Linked DNA regions of Homo sapiens: region 2 is linked to region 1. The links are contacts of gene promoters, found by promoter capture Hi-C in human tissues and cell types (Jung and others, 2019). All regions are on one chromosome and are shown on one strand. Each heading gives the region's core, a stretch centred on a gene start or on the middle of the fragment in contact. The rest is flanking DNA. Distances are from core to core; before and after follow the strand shown.

The links. Contacts are between HindIII fragments. The study calls those that stand out against the background at their distance.
Region 2: a fragment that was not itself captured here is called in contact with the fragment with the promoter of LINC00955 in region 1 in 8 of the 25 tissues and cell types used here (IMR-90 fibroblasts, adrenal gland, bladder and 5 more).

The regions. Positions count from the first base shown.
Region 1 is chr4:3,574,473-3,579,230 of GRCh38, forward strand. LINC00955 (long intergenic non-protein coding RNA 955) reads left to right here and starts at 2,397. Exons shown (of 3, transcript NR_040045.1): 1 at 2,397-2,651. The HindIII fragment of the contact is 13,427 bases long and covers 1-4,758 here.
Region 2 is chr4:3,629,890-3,634,647 of GRCh38, forward strand. It overlaps LOC112268461 (a long non-coding RNA gene), which reads right to left. Exons shown (of 4, transcript XR_002959775.2): 2 at 4,556-4,758; 3 at 3,539-3,744; 4 at 3,147-3,341. Among named protein-coding and RNA genes, the nearest start is that of LINC02171, 46 kb to the right of the region's middle. RefSeq lists an enhancer at 1,283-2,282. The HindIII fragment of the contact is 8,760 bases long and covers 1-4,758 here.

The DNA of each region.
Region 1 (4,758 bases), core at 1,147-3,646:
AAAGAAACAACAAACAAAAATAATCTGAGACTCCCTGAAGGATGAGAACGGGCTGAGCGGGGCCACAGGAGCCCGCACCGGGTCCGCGGAAGGAACTCACACTCCTGCTTCAAGGTGTGGAAGGCGACCCAAGAGGCGGTACACAGACCGCGAGGGAGCGTGCTGTGAGAAGCTCAGGGAGACAGGGCCTGGGAGGCCAGGTGAGGTGTGGGCACAGCCAGGGAGAAACACTGGTGACCCGAGACGCACGGGAACTCGCAGTCACTTGACCAAGTAGCGGCCACGTTTGCGCCACACTTCCATAAACGTGACCAGTAAGGAAGCGACAAGCCTGAAGGGTCCTGACCATTTATTACTCAGGGTACAGCATGTCCTTATCCCTCTGCCTTGTCCCCCACATCTCAGGGGGCAAACAGAGCAGGTTTGTGTCAGCCGAGGAAACCCTTGATCTTCTAAGGGGACTGCTAGCCATCTCGCCCCCATCTTTGCCACAGAAAAGACGGTATCCTTTTGCCCTGGAAGATAAACCAACGTCTCGGGGAGAGGAGGGGCCGCAGGTTTATTTCCCAGAAATGTGTGCAAATCTGCAGACACAGCAGGGAGGTTTTGCTCTCCTGCATGCCTCCAGCGGGCTCTGGCTTGCAAGAATGTCTCATGCAGGCATTCTTCCAGTGCCCTGTGCTTTGAAAAATACGCAGAAAAGCCAGAATTATGGAGGGCAGCCTCCTGGGCTTGTGGGTGTTGGGCAGGTGGAGGGAGACGTATGGAATCTTCTGGTCTCCAGGCAGCTGTGCAGTGCACCGGTCGGTGGGATCAGTCAAGGAGGTTCAGAGCAGGATGGAGGAACCGCTCCAGGGATTTCCAGCAGAGAGGGGTTTGTTGCAGGGAAGGAGATGGATCCTGGGACCCTGGAGTTCGCACCCCTGCTCTGTCTGCTGCAGTGCTCCGGGGGTACACAGCCCAGCCCAGGGTCGCCCCGGTCATGTGCCCCCAGCACCAGCCCCTGGGCCTTTTATATGTTTCTGGGATGCTGCCTGTCTTCCAGTGCCATCAGGAAAGGCTCGGGGAGCTGGGCCTCACTGGACGCCATACCCCTCCCGCTGGAACAGTGCGTAGGTGTTCCGCCCTCCAGGGCAGACTGACCGCAGGATGAACGCCCCCGCCCCACAGGTGCCCAGCGCTTCACAGCTCACAGAGCCCTTCGACCTCCCTGGCCTGGGATGACCCTCTCAACACCCCCAGGAGGAGACACCGGTGCTGCCTTCAGCAGGGAAACCTGGGCTTGGATAGGTGCAGCGGCTCCTCCAAGGTGGCCAAGCTGCCTGGCCCTCGCTCATGAATTCTGAGTAGCCCCTCCTGTCACTGCCACCCACTGCTCTCCCCGGAGGCCTGTGTGTCCTTTGTTCTCTCCTGAGGATGGCTGTGGCCTCCTCCTGTTCCTGACAGGGCCCGGTGCCCACTGGCTCATGTCAGAGTTCAGGCCTGAGGGGAGGGGTGTTTGTGCTAACAGGAGGCAGAGGGCAGCCTGCCAGTCTGGCCCTGTGGCCACCTGAGCTGTCCCCTGGGACCCGTGGCTTCATGACTCTGACCCAGTGGATGCTGTCTTCATAGTCTGAGTGGGAGCCAGGTTTGACCTTGGAGTGCCTGGGGCATAGAGTCCCTGTCCTCTGGAGGAAGAGATGGTCATCCCTTTTCATGCTGACTGGCCCCAGGGCAGGACCTGCTCTTTTGGACCCTAAAAGGGACAAGGCCTGGTGGCAGAGCAGAGCTGGGGCTCAGGAGAGGGAGACGGGTGGGAGGAAGGGAGGAAGAGGAAGAGAAGGAGGAAAGGGGGAGATGAGGAAGGGGGAGGAAGAGGAGGAGGAGGAGAAGGAAGAGGAGGAGGAGGAGATGACTCAGGCACCCACGGCATTACTGTGGCAGGCTGGCCCTCGGTTTCCCCAGCAGTAAATGAAGAGATGGGGTCAAGGGGCCCAGGCCCCCTTCCAGATCTGAGACCTGCGCATCAGGCTGTCTGTATTCAGAGGAAGCCGGGGATGGCAGCTCCCAGCCGTGGGCTCGGCCTTCATTCACTGTACAGGCTCATCCATTCACCCAGTGAACCCTCCCGAGTCCCTTCATGAGGGCGGCCTCGCAGGGACTTTGGTCTCGGCTCTGCCCTGTCCTGGCCTTGGGACCCTGGGTGAGCTGAGGCAACCCAGTTTCCTGGTCTGTGACTCCAGGCTCTGTCCTCGCCCCATCGCCCCCCATCGTGGCACAGGTTCGAGGGTGTTGGCTTGCCTGGCCTCCTGAGGGCCTTCTGGGGTTAAAGTCTTCTATCCTGAGGCTGAGACCAGGGCTGGGGAGGAGGTTCAGCCCCTGTGGACTTTATCCTCCCTCTCCACGGCTGAGTCTTGATTTACAGCTGGAAGGGCAGACGGAGGCATCTTGGTGTATACACAGCCCTGCTGGGCCACATCCCGGGTCTCCTCCCTCTGCGATGCCATAGCAGGGGCGCCTTCCGAAAGCCCTCTGGATTGAGGCAGCAGGATCTATGGTGGAACCTGCCCCGGCGTCGCCAACGCCCCTAGGACCCCAGCACACTGACTGGGGAGCATCCCTGTGTCGTTTCTGCCCGGAGAGGAGCAGAGGCCAGGCTGCTGCTCTGGGAGGTGAGTGTCATGCCTGGGAACACAGCGGGGACCCCAGGGAGGGAGAGCAGGTGTTTGCTCCCTGGGCTCTGCCTGGTGGTCCTGACAGCAGTCCTGACTGTTGCGAAGGCTGTTTTTTGGTGGCTTCCTTAGGGTCCTCGCTGTGCTCTCGGTCCCAGCACTGTCTGCTCTCCTTCCTGGTTATTTGAATGACCCGGCTCCTGTTGCTGTATCCCGGGTCCTGACCTCCCCTGAGATGGACTCTGTTCAGGCTAGACTGCCTCAAGGGACCCGCTTCAGTCTATTTGTGGCAGAAAAGGTTAGCTGGCTCCTGGGAAATGTCAGGGGATAAGTCAAAGCTGGCCAGCGGCAAGGCCCAGTGACGCCCTGTCATTTTATGACTCCCTTTTCTTAATCAGTCGAGGAGAAAAACAAGCAATGAAGGATTTTCCATGGCAACCACCAGCAGGGCAGTGTTCTCTCCCTACCTGAGCTTGTTTTAAGAAGAGGGGTCTGGCCAGAGGCTGCTGACCCTGGCCCCAGAGGGCAGGGGTCGAGTGTCCTGGAGTGTGACTCCCAGGCACCTGGGCTTGGGCTGGGCCCCTGGAGCAGGCGCAGCTAATCTGGCCAATCTACTCCTTCACACTCATGGAGCAAATGGGGAAACAACCCAGAGAGGGGCAGCCCAAGGAAGCAAATTTGTAGAGCCTGACACTCTGAGAGAGCTCTCAGAAGGATACTAGTCTTCTAAACCAGAAACTTATTCATATAATAATAATAATGTTTATAATAATAACATTATTAATTCCTTCACCATCCACCCACTTACTCACCCTCTTACCCATCTGTCCATTCAACTCATCCACCCCCACATCCAGCCAGCTTCCATCCTATCATACATTCATCCACCTACCCGTCCACCCTTTCATCCTTCCTTTCTTTCATCACCCACCCATCCTCTCACTCATTCATTCATCCATCCACCCATCCATCCATCTACCCATTCATCCACCCATTCATTTATTCACTCTCCCATCCACCCATCCATTCACCCTTTCTTTCTTTCATCATCCATCTATCCACCCATCCATCCATTCATCCACATATTCGTCCACCCATTCATTATTCACTTATCTATCCATCCTTCCAACCATCCATCCATTCATCCACCTATTCTATTCACCCACCCATCCTTTCATGCTTTCTTTCTTTCATCATCCATCCATCCATCCATCCATCCATCCATCCATCCATCCGTCCATCCATCCATCCACCTATTCCATTCACCCACCTATCCATTCATTCACTCACTCATCCATCCATCCACCCATCCGTCCTCCCTTTCTTTCATCACCCACCCATCCATTCACTCACCCATCATCCATCCACCCAGCTAGCCAGCTTCCATGTCTATATCCAACTACTCACTCATCCATTCACCCATCAACCTAACTAAACTTGTTTTCTCCCATGTAACACAATACTTATCCACCCATCCATCCGTCAACCTACCCAACCACCCCATAACACGCCCACATCCTTCCCTTTGCCCATCTGTACACATACTTATCTACCTCTCCTATACCCATATACCCATGACATCCACTCACCCATTCATGCATGATCCTCCTACACATTCACTCACTTACCCATTGACTGCTTCACCTACTTATCCACTACTCCCCATTCACCCATACCCTCATAAAACTTCTATCCATCCATTCTATCCACCTACTCAAACAACCACCTATCAACCCATCTACCCATCAGACTGTGGTCCACCCACCTATCCATCCACCCATCTACCCATCTACCCAAAGACCCATCATCCATCCTCTATCCACCCATCTATCCATCCATCCATCCATCCATCCATCCATCCATCCATCCATCCAAACACCACACATCACTCGTATGACTTTAGAAGCTTTGTCCACAGATTCCAACTCAGCTTTGAGATTTGGATCATCCAAATTTGCTTCCTGGGCTGCCCCTCTGGTCTGTTTCCCCATCTGCTCCACGAGTGTGAAGGAGTAGATCAGCCAGATTAGCTGCGCCTGCTTCAGGACTCCAGCCAAGTTTGGGTGTCTGGGAGCCACACTCCAGGTCTCACCAGGAAGACTATGCC
Region 2 (4,758 bases), core at 1,010-3,509, 55 kb after region 1:
GCTGTGGAGCTAGGGGTGTGGGAAGGGGCCTCGGGCCCGGGAGGGTGGGAGGAAGAGCCCCTGGGCAGCCTGCAGGTGAGACCCTTCTCCCGCTGCCAGCCTGCTCACCAAGCCACCCTCAGAACATCGCTCAGCACCTCTGCCCAGAAACTGGAAAGATAACTGGGTCATGGCAAAGAGTGAATTATTCCTCCGGAGAAAGTTTTAAAATGCATGAGCCCTCAATGGCAGAGAGGGAGGCAGTTATGAAGCTCAGAGGCAGTCTTGGAATTGGAGTCACAGAGTGGCTCCTTCCCTGTGCCTTCCGGGGTTCAGGGAGGAGCTGGACAGGACCCCCATCCGTAAAGGAGCCCCTATTCTGGTGGGAGAGACAGAGACCCAGACGTGAGTGCTGGCAATGTGGGGAGGTCAAAGCTATGACCTCTCAGGGCTGTAGGAGGAGAGGGAGCGCCTGGGGCCAGCCTGGAGGGGGAAAAGGAGGGTCAGGGAGCACCCACAGAAGAGGGGACAAGACAATGAGGGGCGCCTCAGGGGGAGGGGACCGTGCAGGCTGAGGCTGGGGTTTACAATTTCCTAGCGTGGTGAGACTCCTTTGAGGACCGCTGAAAGGGAGGGCACCCCAGCTAGTGCAGCAGGCACGGTGGGACCTCGGGCAGCACAGGGAGCCCCCTGACCACAGGTGGCCTGAAAGTCGGGATAGGAGAACTCCTACACATGCTTCAGGGCCCTGCTCAAGTGTCGCAAATCCCTCCCAAAGGCTGAGGATACCGCATCTGAGAAATGGGCTTCTGAGCATGTGTCAGACATGGCCCAGGAGGCATCAGCCAGGGCGGGGCTCGGGGGCTCCTAGGAGCTGCTCCTAGCTGCTGTGCCCTGCCTGCTGGTCACCCGTCCTGCACTAGGCGATAGGGTTCTGGAGGGCAGCAGGACCATGTCATAGGAGGTGTGAATGGGGCTTTGCTGCAGGCTGTGGGCGGGGACTGGGGCTCCTGGGGGCCGAGGCACATGGCAGGCAGGGGAAGAAGCTGGGGCGGGGTGCAGAGGGTGGGGAGAGAGCACTCTCCCGGCCCAGGCCTCACCCGGAAATGGGAGGTGATTTTCCAGCACAGGCAGCTTCTGGGCTTAGAGGCTGGACGTTGCCTCAGTGAGCTACGGGCAGTGTTCCTCCTGGGGTGGGGTGGGAGGGGGGTCTTATGGCCCCTGGGGACCTTGGGGCCGGGTGGGGTCTAGTGCCCTGGGAGGGTCCCAGTGTGGGAGAAGGAGGGGTCGGGGGGTGGTTTAGGCATGTAAAGGGTGGAGATGCCCCTGTAAGTCTGGAGCTGGCAGCCCGGGTGTCTCAACTGCAGCCTTTAGGGCCGCAGTGGACCAGCAAAGGCTTCACCTCCCTGGGGACCCCAGCAGAGCGCGAGGCAGGAGCCCCTGTAGGCCTTGATCCCACTTTTCTCTGGGCGGGCCCGCGGCAGCAGATGTTTGATGAGCCGGAGATGGGGAGCCTGCCTTGCATGGCCTTGCCCTGCCTGCATGGGCGCTCACCCTGCCCCACCCTCCAGGACACTCCGTGGGGCATCACTGCTGCCCCGTGAGGATCCCCCTTGCGGGGTGGAGGTGTGTGAGGAGCCGTGTCTGGGGCCTCAGAAGATGCTGGTCCCCTGCCCTGTCTACACAGCCTGGCTGTCCTGGGGGGATGGGGAGACAGGACACAGGCCACGGGTCTGTGCGGGCTGCTGTGCGTCTGGGGAGAGCCAGCACCCCGAGGGAGGAGGTGGCTGCTGGGGAGCAGGATGAAGCAGGAAGGGGTCACCCCACTGAATGGGGTGTGGGTGCAGTCCATTCGTCCTGAAGCCACACATGCCTGGTTTGTGGCCTTTGACTCATGCTGGTGATGGTCACCGTGTGTCCAGGACAGAGCCTGGAAGATTAAGAGCGTGTTTAATTTTTACCACTGGCCGGTGATGCTGGTGTTTTCAGAGGGGAACTGAGGCCTGTGGAAGGGAAATAGCTGACCGGGGGCAGAACACTGCTGGCCAGTGACAAAGGGAGGGACCTACACCGGCTGTGTGCCTCTAACACGCGTCCTCCCACGTGGCACCACCCACAGCGACCCCAGCCCCCTTGCCTTTCTTCAGCGCCTGTATGGGGCCAAGAACCCGAGACTGGGCTGGTGACTGGGCTGTGACCACAGGCCCCTCCTCTCCAGCTGGGGTCAAACAAACACAGCTCGCCCACGCAGGGTCATCTTGAAGCTGAGGATGGAACTTGAGAAAACATGTTTCTTTGTTTGGCAATGAGGTCTGCGGAGGGTTCTGAGGGTTTGGAGACATTTTCTTCCTGGAGAGGGCCCTCGTTCCTCCCAGGTATTTGACTCCTACTCCCTGCGAAGCCTCCGAGAGCCGTGCTGGGCTCTCCTTCCTCGGCCGCCTCCTCTCCAGGGCAATAGCCCTACTGAGTCCTTGCTCACCTCCAGATGACTCTTCTGTGGAACTTTCCAGTGGAGAAGGAGGAGGGAGAGGAGAAGCAGGGAGCAGCCCGGCCTTCCTCCTCTGTGCCCACTGCCCTCCTGCCATGGGCCCTGTCTGGGCACCCACTTAGGGGTCTCCAGCCTGACTGGTGGCACTGCGGCCTCCCCATGGCTCTAAGGCTGTCTGGGGTGTCCAGGAGTCACAGAGATGGAAACAGATTCACCTCAGTTCCTGCAGTGCCTGCTCCCGACACCATATGTTCAGGGTTAGACGGTGTCCCCCGTAAAGTCATGTTCATCCAGAACCTCAGAATGTGACCTTATTTGGAAATAGGCTCTTTGCCGGTGGAATTAGTTCAGATGAGATATGGGGGTAGGGTGGGCCCTGAACCTGGTGATGGGTGTCCTCACAGGAAGAGGGAAATCCAGACTCAGACACAGAGAGGAGGAGAAGGAGGCTGAGACGACAGAGTAGACAGTGGGGTGATGCGGCCACAAGCCAAGGACGCCTGGAGCCACCAGGAGTGGAAGACGCAGGAAGGGTGCTCCTGCAGAACCTTCAGAGGCAGCACGGCCCTGCCCGCACCTCCATCTGGGACGTGGGACTCCAGACTGCGAGGGAGTGGACGCCCGTTGTTGAAGCCCTGTGTGGGCACCCCTATCGCGGCAGCCCTGGGACTCCTCAACTGTGCCCTGTCACCTCTCACCCTGCTGCTGGAGAGGCTCGGTTTGCTCCTGGAAGTCGTGACTGTGAAACGTGGATGTTTTGCTGTGACGTCCATTGCTACTCTCATGCTGGGGTCCTGCTCTCTCTGTCCAGGTTCCGTCACCGCAGAGCTGGACATCAAGGCCGAGGACCTTCTCAGTGGGCAGAAGTGTGTCTCTACAAATAGTGCCAGGTCCTTTTCATTATCCTCCCTGGTCCCTCCCCTCCCCTCCCCCTTCCCCTCCCTCCCTCCTTCCCTCCCTCCCTCCTTCTCTCCCTCCCTCCTTCCATGTCTGGAGAGAACCCCGGCTTGGAGCAGGCATGCTCTGCTCTGTTACCGAGTTGTGAGGCAGATCTCGGGCCTCCTCACTCACCGTCCCACTGGCCAGGAGTTCGGAGGGCGTGGTTGGGGGCTCTCAGTTGGGGTCTCTCAGTGGGTGCCCTTGGAGGCTGCTGCCATTGAAAGCGCTCTGGGGTGAGAGGCCGGCAGTGTTTGCTAGGGGTGGGAGCTCAGCTGGGCTGCCAGAAGGTGTCCCCACATGGGAACCCCTGGATGGGGGGCTCGGATGGTGGCTGTCCCCTGCAGAGAGATGGCCCAGGAGAGTGACGTGGGCTGCCTGCTGCTCTGCACCGGCCTGGGCATGGCAAATCACTGTGCTGTGTCCACTTTCCAGTGTGGGGCCTTGAGCACTGCCAAGAGGTTTTGCCCCAGGGGCTTCCAGGAGGCCTTGCCATCGTCAGTGCATGATACCACCTCCCTGGGTCTGAGGCTGCGTCCTGGAGTGCATGGGTCCCTCCGAGGGACTAGGACCGGCAGATACTCAGCGTCCACAACTATGAACACCTGAGCAGAGGCGGGCTGGGATCCAGGCCCAGCTTGCTGGAAGCTTCTCCATGGGATCTCTCAGGATCCCCATTTTCTCCCGTACCAGTGAAGAAAACCAGCATCCACCCACCACAGAGCCCACAGCTCAGGCTCCTGGCCCAGTGGCCTGGTGATGCCTGGAGACCAGGCTTTGTCTGCTGGTCACTGCTAGAGGCCCCTGGCCACTCTCACTTGATCTCCCGCATGGAACTTCCTGCAAACTCTTGAGCGGAGGCGCAGTGGCCACCATTGCCAACATTTCAGTCAGCAGGACTGTGGGCCTGGAGAGCCCCGGGAGCTGAGGTTGCAGAATCGGGATCTCAAAGGCCCCCACCGACATCCAGTCCAGCACTTCCTGCTGGAGTCCGAGGACACTTTGAGCTCCGCCTGGAGCTGTCTGCTGGCCCCTCAGAGGGCGTGATGCGGGATGCGGCTCTGGCCACTCGCAATGTGGCTCCAGGGAGGCCGTCTCTGGGGTCTCCCCTAGAAAGATCTGTGAACAGGGTAGCCCCCCAGAGGCCCCTACCTTTCCAGTGGCTGAGATGCAAGTGGCTGGGGCCTGGATGTTGCCACTCAACCCGTGGTCCCTGCAGCAGGTGGCCCTGGCCCCAGAGCTCGCCGTGGCGCTGGAGGTGCCATCAGATTTTCAGGCCAGTCGGGTGACTCCTGACGCCCCATCTCTTCTGGGCATTACTGTCACCTGTCGCATGCCCCAGGTCCGCTCAGCAT